Linked DNA regions of Homo sapiens: regions 1 and 2 are each linked to region 3. Evidence: promoter capture Hi-C in 16 types of primary human blood cells and fetal thymus (Javierre and others, 2016). All regions are on one chromosome and are shown on one strand. Each heading gives the region's core, a stretch centred on a gene start or on the middle of the fragment in contact. The rest is flanking DNA. Distances are from core to core; before and after follow the strand shown.

Region 1 (2,700 bases), core at 39-2,538, 830 kb before region 3:
TTGTTCCACATTTGAAATGTGTATGCCCCTATTCTCTTCCCTATCAGTGCCTGTTATCACTCATTCACCAGCCTAAGCATTTCCCTCTCAAACCACTTGTCCTATCAAAATCACCGATGTATTCATTCATTCCACAGATATTGACTGAGTACCTACTGAGTACCAGGCACATGGCTCTCGTCCTCAAAGCACTTACATTCTGTTATGGACTAAATGTTTATGTCCCCTCCCCACTCCAACCAAATTCATATCTTGAGATCCTAACCCCCAATGGGATAGTATTGGGAGGTGATTAGGTCATGAGGGTAGAGCCATCATGAATGGAATTAGTGCCCATATAAAAGACACACCAGAGAGCTCCCTCCACCCTTCTGTCATTCGAAGACACAGCAAGAAGACGCCTTCCATGAACCAGAAGACAGCCCTCACCAGACATGGAATCTGTGGGTGCCTTGAACTTAGACTTCCCACCCTCCAGAGCTGTGCGAAATACATTTTTGTTCTTTAAGCCACAATGTCTATGGTATTTTTGTTACAGCAGCTGACATGAACTAAGACACATTCTAATGGGGAAAGCAGGAGGTACACATAGAAATGCACTAATTGCAAACTTCAAGTGGTGATAACAGCAAAGGAGAGTCACTGGATGGGACTGCTTCTGAGCAGATGGTCAGAGAGGGCTTTTCTGAAGAGGTGACATTTAAGCTGAGACTTGCATGATGAGAAGGTACCCTGTGTATCTGGAAGAAATCATTGCAGGCACAATGCAGACTCTGAGATGGGCATGCACTAGGAGTGCTGGAGGACCAGAGAGAAGACCAATGTGGCTGGAGTATTGAGTAAAAAGGAGAATAGAGAAGATGAAAGAAGCAAGTTCATCAGGGGCTCACCTGTTTCCCCCCATAATCCAGCCCACGGGTCAATCGAGTGAGTTTCTGCCATTGGCACCATCATCTCATTTCGAGGCTTCAATGGCTACTCCTCTTTCTTTAGAAATTGAAGTTTATGGCTGGGCATGGTGGCTCATGCCTGTAATCCCAGCACTTTGGGAGGCCGAGGAGGGCAGATCACTTGAGGTCAGGAGTTCGAGACCAGCCTGGCCAACATGGTGAAATCCCATCTCTATTAAAAATAAAAAAATTAGTCAGGTGTGGTAGTGCACACCTGTAGTCCCAGCTACTCGGGAGGCTGAGGCAGAAGAATCACTTGAACCCAGGAGGCAGAGGTTGCAGTGAGCTGAGATCACATCACTGCACTCCAGCTTGGGCGACAGAGCCAGACTGCATCTCAAAAAAAAAAAAAAATTTGAAATCTACTTTGGCTCACATTCATCGTGGATGTGTTGGAGGAGGTGGGGACCTCTTGGGAAGGTGGTACAATAGCTTGAGTCAAAAATGAGGATGCACGGGGCTTCTCCAGTCACATCTGTGTTCTCCAAACTGGGCTCAGAGTTAGCCCTGGGGAGTAGTTGCTGAGTCTTCTCCAAGTCAACATGACTAGATCCACCTCTATGCTTACTCTGAGTAATCCCTCTCTCAACTTCCTCACCTCCATCCTTCCACCTCATCCCCTGCAAAATTCCTCAGCCCAAGATTAATTGTGCATGATTTCTTACCCCCTACACTCAGCCACCTGGCACATCTGGACATTTCACCCAATCATGCCAATGACACTGCTATAAATTCATTGTTCCCAATTCAGCTGAGCCTTCATTATTCCTTGTTAACTCTCTGCTTATCCTTAATAAGCTCCCCACTCCCATTCCTTTCAGATGCTTTTCCAGGCCCTCAACTTGGCCTCAAGTTCCTTATATGAAGAAAGTAAAAGTTCGTCTTCAAAGTTTCCCTTCTTGTTAAAGAATAAATCTTAAGTGTTAAAAATAGTTTCTTTTAAAGACTAACTTCCTTCAAGCCTCCTTACTTTATGCTAATAACTCTTTGTTAAGCCCTATCCTATGTAGGTGTTAGACACGCTCACAGGCACATAGTACATTCTACGTCCTTGTACTTTAACCAAGATATCTGTGCTGGATGTGCTCACAGGCATGTCCCAGCTTGCAGCCTATACCCCTTCCTTATTTGGGAATGTTATTACTTTTCTAAGTCCTTTTGTAAGCAACTTCCTCTTTTCCTCTGTTTTCCATTGCTTTTACCTATTTAGAAAAGTTTTAAATTATTAGCCAGTCGGGATTTAGTTTAGATTGTAAAGTCTGGCTCCAGCCAATGGAGACAGACACAGTAGCAGGGACAAACTGCATAAGGGATAAAAATTGCTTCTTCCCTCCTTTGTTCAGGTGTGCTCTTGCCATTGTTCCATCTGTGATGAACACCCTTTCTGCAGAAGTAAAAATTGCCTTGCTGAGATAATTAAATTTATGTTTGAGTGCTATTTCTTTATGGCACTGGGGAACAAGCATTCTGTTTCTAAATAAACATTTTACATATGACACTATACAACTTTCCAATTGTTTGGGATGATGTACAAAGTCTTCTCCCATTTGGGATCTGACAGCCTTGTTAATATCTTCCACCACCACTCCCAACTTACCCCATGCTCTCACCTTCCTGAATGCCCCACCATTCTCCAAACAACTTAGGTACCTTCAAGCTTTGCATGTTCTCTTCTCTCTGCCTGAAATACGTCTCCCCTCTCACTGTCCAGTTGAAGTCCTACTCACCTGTCAAGACGCAGTTAACAGGT
Region 2 (2,700 bases), core at 147-2,646, 860 kb before region 3:
ATTGGACAGCTTCCTCCTGACTGTGATGGCCTATGACCGGTTTGTGGCCATCTGTCACCCCCTGTACTACACGGTCATCATGAACCCTCAACTCTGTGGATTGCTGGTTCTGGTATCCTGGATCACAAGTGTCTTGCATTCCTTATTACATAGCTTAATGGTGCTGCAGTTGTCCTTATGCAGAGAGTTGGAAATCCCCCACTTTTTCTGTGAACTTAATCAGGTCATCCACCTTGCCTGTTCTGACACCTTTCTTAATGACATGGTGATGTATCTGGCAGCTGTGCTGCTGGGTGGGGGGATGTCTCGCTGGGATCCTTTACTCTTACTCTAAGATAGTTTCCTCCATATGTGCAATCTCATCAGCTCAAGGGAAGTATAAGGCATTTTCCACCTGTCCGTCTCACCTCTCAGTTGTCTCCTTGTTTTACTGTACAAGCCTAGGAGTGTACCTTAGCTCGGCTGCATCCCACAACTCACACTCAGGTGCAATAGCCTCAGTGAGGTACACTGTGGTCACCCCCATGCTGAACCCCTTCATCTACAGCCTGAGGAATAAGGACATAAAGAGGGCTCTGAAGAATTCTTTGGGAGGGAAACTAGAAAAGGGCCAGTTGTCCTAGGGCTGAAGCTATATCCATGATTGCAAGGCTCAAAGCCTCAGAGCCAGATATTGCTGTTGTTTAATCAGATCATGGAAGTGGAAACTGCTCTTTTTTTTTTTTTTTTTTTTTTTTGAGACAGAGTTTTGCTCTGCTGCCCAGGCCAGAGTGCAGTGGCGCCATCTCCGCTCACTGCAAGCTCCACCTCCTGGGTTCATGCTATTCTGCTGCCTCAGCCTCCCGAGTAGCTGGGACTACAGGCACCCACCACCGCACCCGGCTAATTTCTTGTATTTTCAGTAGAGACGGGGTTTCACTATGTTAGCCAGGATGGTCTTGATCTCCTGACCTCGTGATCCAACCGCCTCTGCCTCCCAAAGTGCTGGGATTACAGGCGTGAGCCACTGCGCCGGGCTGGAAATTGCTCTATTTATTTCCTGAAGTTTCCATTTCTTTTATCTCAACTGCTTCATCAAATTTAAGCAACTCCTATTATTAAGCTTTCCTCTCTCTCTAATATTCAACAGATTTTCCCCTTGTTTTCCTCCTTTCTCAAAGTTATTCCCAACCTTGGGTCAGAAACAATTTGGAGATTCCCATTTGCCTCATAGGGTGATGAGTTGTACTATTCCTATGGAATAAACTACGCTTGGCACTGAGGCCATTTATGTAATTTTATTGGAGAAGAATTTCTGAGGCTATGGTTTTTCACTTTTTGTGTTTGTCATTCATTTCTGTATCACTACCTTAATTGATCTTCCTGATAATGTAGACTTAAACATACTAGGGTATTTTATAGCTGGTTATGGGATTTTTCACTCCCATTAGGATCCTGTTCTCTTCTTGAACTCAGTATTCATGAATTCTACTATATTTACTGGCACTGAGTACTTAGTCAAAAGTTGCTCATCAAATAAATGCTCCAAGCATAGTCTACACAGAAAGACAAACTGGCAAAAATCAATTGGCTTTACATGGACTTAGAGTTAGAGATGACGTTAAATATGATAGAGTAACATTTTCAATTATGTACTAAATTTCTATGGAAGGTTTGTTTTCAATGATGTACATCTACTCATTGAAGTGTGGAAGCTTGTTATTCATGTGTAATGAGGTTTGTTGATCTGAGTGAAAGATTTGGTGTCATGGTCTATATTATTTTATTGTATCATCTTGCTGTTTCTATTTGAAAATTCTAGTGTTACCTACAAATATGACTACTTACATTGTCCAAAAAATATTTCCCCCTTTAACAAATGTAATCATAACACAAAATACAGATGATTGAACAATATGTGTATTTACTTGATCATCAATTCCTTTACATCTTTTATAATCTAAATTCTTTTCAGTCCTCATGATCAAAGATTATTCTGTTGATATCTGGATATTTATATCTTTCCTGAAAGTTGGAAAGTTTTCAGTTATTTTTTTGATAAGCTTTCTGTCTCTTTGTTCATTCCTTCTCTTTCTTGATTCCTGTTAATTCAAATATTTACCCTCCTTATGCTGCCCCATAAAATCCCATAAGTTTTCTTCACTCCTTTTTATTCTGTTTTTCTCCTCTGAGTGTATGTTTTCTAATAATCTGTCTTCAAGTTCATAGATTATTTCTTCTGCTTTATTTCTTCTGCTTTATCAATCCTGCTGTTGACACTCTAGATTGCATTTTTCATTTCATTCATTGTATTTTTCATCTTGAGAATTTCTAGAGTTTTTTTATAATTTCAATCTCTCTGTTAAATTTCAAATTTTGTTCATTTATTGTCTTTCTGATTTTGGTGAATTGTTTCTCTGTATTTTCTTAAAGTTTGCTGCACTTCCTTAAAACAATTATTTTTGAATTCTTTGTCAGAAAGTTCATATATCTCCATTTCTTTCTTTTTATTTAAAATATATAAATAAATATATAATTGTTTTTTAAAAAAATTAAAAATCACAATACAACAATAAAAATAATACAAATTTTTAAATAAAGTATAACAACTATTTACAGAGCATTTACACTGTGTTCAGTATTATAAGTACTCTAGAAATGATTTAAAGTATACAGGAGAATGTGCATAGCTAATATGCAAATACTATGCCATTTTATATA
Region 3 (2,700 bases), core at 197-2,696:
AATTCAAGATGGACTAAAGACTTAAATGTTAGACCTAAAACCATAAAAACCCTAGAAGAAAACCTAGGCAATACCTTTCAGTACATAGGCATGGGCAAGGACTTCATGTCTAAAACACCAAAAGCAACGGCAACAAAAGCCAAAATTGACAAATGGGATATAATTAAACTAAAGAGCTTCTGCACAGCAAAAGAAACTACCATCAGAGTGAACAGTCAACCTACAGAATGGGAGAAAATTTTTGCAATCTACTCATCTGACAAAGGGCTAATATCCAGAATCTACATCTGACTAATTTTTGTATTTTGAGTAGAGATGGGGTTTCGCCATGTTGGCCAGGCTGGTCTTGAGCTCCTGAACTCAAGTGATCCACCTGCCTCAGCCTCCCAGAGTGCTGGGATTACAGGCATGAGCCACCGCGCCCGGCCCCCAACTCACTAATTCTCTCTTCAATTGTGTCTGACATGCATTAAACTTCTCCTGGGATATTAATATTGTAGCTTTGGTTCTAAAAATTATATATCTTTTTTTTCAAATCAACCCTGCCGCTCTTTACAATGCTTTATCCTTGAAGATATTTCCAAAATTACATTTCGTTATTTAAACTTCGTAAGCAATATTGTTTCATAGTCCTTGCCTGATAATTCCAGTATCTGAAATCTTTGTTGGACTGTTTCTGGAGTTATGGGGAACTGGGAGATTCTGAAGGTGTTGATACCTGGGTCATGATGCACCCTGTCAAGTTTATGGGGAGGAAGAGGCAGAGCTGGAGCTCTTGGCCCCTCCACTCCATCTGGGCTTGCTGCAGGAACCTACCGTGTGACCTTGGCCTTGTTCCCTGCCCTCTGTGGGCTTTGTGTTCCCAGAGGCAACCATAGAGGATGCTTCTTCTGAGAATCACACCTCTGTGTCTCTCCAGATCCCTTTCCTGATATCTGTTGAGAAGAGACACCATCCTGGGAAACATCACCCAGAATCCAGTCCCATTTTTCCAAAATGCTTGGAATTGGGGCAGCCCAGCCCAGCCTCGCTAGCCGCAGGGGGTGGTGGTGGTGGTGGTGTCAGGGTTTGATGGTGGTGTCAGGGTTTGATGGTGAGATCTTTAGGGAGGAGGTGATGTAAAAACTGAAACCTCAAATGAGAACAGGACTGAGATAAGTGAGAGTGAGTAGTGGTGGAAGGGGTCCCAGGCAGGAGGAAGGGAGGAAAGATGGAAGAAGGGAAGAAGAGAGGAAGGAAGGAAGAGAAGGAAGAAAAGAGGGAGGGAAGCAGCAAAGGAAGGAGGGAGGCAGGAATGGAGAGGGCAATCCCAAGGTCCCCCGCCTCCCTCCTTGGACTTCGATTACCCTGCATCCTGCATCCCAGGCAGGCTCCTCAAGACACCTCTGGGAACGTGCCACTGGGGAAGACGCCTGCAGAGATGAAGCTCTCACCCTGGGTGCACTGTGCCCAGGGCCATTACAGGCCTGGCTGCAAGGCGTCCCTAAAGGTCTCTGATGAAGGTAAGTGGAGTCGTCTATTTCCAAACCTGCTTTCCAGGATGAAGTGGCAAGAGTACTGGGAGGTGGAAGGGAGAAGGCAAGAGAAGCAGGGAAAATTGGAACAGAGGGAGGCACAGGTTTGGGAAAAGAAACGAGAGGGAGCATGGGATGATATGGAGTAGGGGTTCTATAGCCTCAGCCACCTGACTCCAGGCTGGATCAGCCTGTCCTCACTCCAAGTCCCCCATAGAGTCCACCTACTGCCTAGAGCAGCCCCCTTTCCACAGCAGTCGTGGCCACCAGGGTCCATGCTGGGGTGGGGAGTGGTCTCTATACTAAGTTGTGGAGGAGGGTGGTTCTGAGCCAAGCGGGTGACATTGAGTGTGTCACCATGCATGTGGGTGTACTTAGGCATCACCCATGTGTACTCCTGCCTTCACTGTGTGTGTGTGTGTGCAGTTGTGTGCGCTTGTATGAGATTATTGTAGCTGCCATTTCAAAGTGCCGCAAACCTTGTGGCTTAAAACAAGATAAATGCATTCTTGCAGGGTTCTGGAGGCTAGACGTCTTAAAGCAAGACGTCTACAAAGCTACTCTCCCTCTGAAGATTCTAAGGGAGAAGATGCCTTGCCTCTTCCAGCTTCTGGGTGCTCTAGGCATTGATTGATTTGTAGCTGCATCGCTCCAATCTCTGCCTCTCTCTTCACGCGACCTTTTCCTCTGTGTGTCCTCCCCTCGTCTTTGAGGGGCACCAGTTGTTGGATTTAGTAAACAACCTAATTCAGAATAATCTCATTTTTATTTTTATTATTATTATTTTTTGGACAGGGTCTCGCTCTGTCACCCAGGCTGGAGTGCAGTGGCACGATCACAGCTCACTGCAGCCTCGACCTCCCAGGCTCAACTGATCCTCCCACTTGGCCTCCTAAGCAGCTGTTAGCGCAGGCACACAGCACCACGCCCAGCTAATTTTTGTAGAGATGGGGTTTTGCCATGTTGCTCAGGCTGGTCTCGAACTCCTGGATTCAAGCAATCCCCCGCCCCACCCACCTTGGTCTCCCACAGTGCTGGGATTATAGGTGTGAGCCACCACACCCAGCTGATCTCATTTTTGGATCCTTACCTTAATGACATCTGTAAAAGACTCTATTGCCACCTAAGGTCACATTATTTTATTTTAGTTTAGTTTAGTTTGGTTTCAGGGTACATGCTCAGGATG

What was found. The method cuts DNA at HindIII sites, captures the fragments that hold promoters and counts their contacts. A CHiCAGO score of 5 or more calls a contact.
Region 1: a fragment that was not itself captured here is called in contact with the fragment with the promoter of OR10H5 in region 3 in 1 of 17 cell types (M1 macrophages); the score reaches 5.8 in M1 macrophages.
Region 2: a fragment that was not itself captured here is called in contact with the fragment with the promoter of OR10H5 in region 3 in 1 of 17 cell types (M2 macrophages); the score reaches 5.1 in M2 macrophages.

What each region holds. Positions count from the first base shown.
Region 1 is chr19:14,957,122-14,959,821 of GRCh38, forward strand. The region is part of intron 6 of SLC1A6 (solute carrier family 1 member 6); the gene reads right to left. Among named protein-coding and RNA genes, the nearest start is that of OR7C2, 17 kb to the left of the region's middle. The HindIII fragment of the contact is 2,634 bases long and covers 1-2,605 here.
Region 2 is chr19:14,927,438-14,930,137 of GRCh38, forward strand. It overlaps the pseudogene OR7A15P. Among named protein-coding and RNA genes, the nearest start is that of OR7C2, 13 kb to the right of the region's middle. The HindIII fragment of the contact is 592 bases long and covers 1,101-1,692 here.
Region 3 is chr19:15,786,215-15,788,914 of GRCh38, forward strand. OR10H5 (olfactory receptor family 10 subfamily H member 5) reads left to right here and starts at 1,447. Exons shown (of 2, transcript NM_001004466.2): 1 at 1,447-1,502. The HindIII fragment of the contact is 16,043 bases long and covers 1-2,700 here.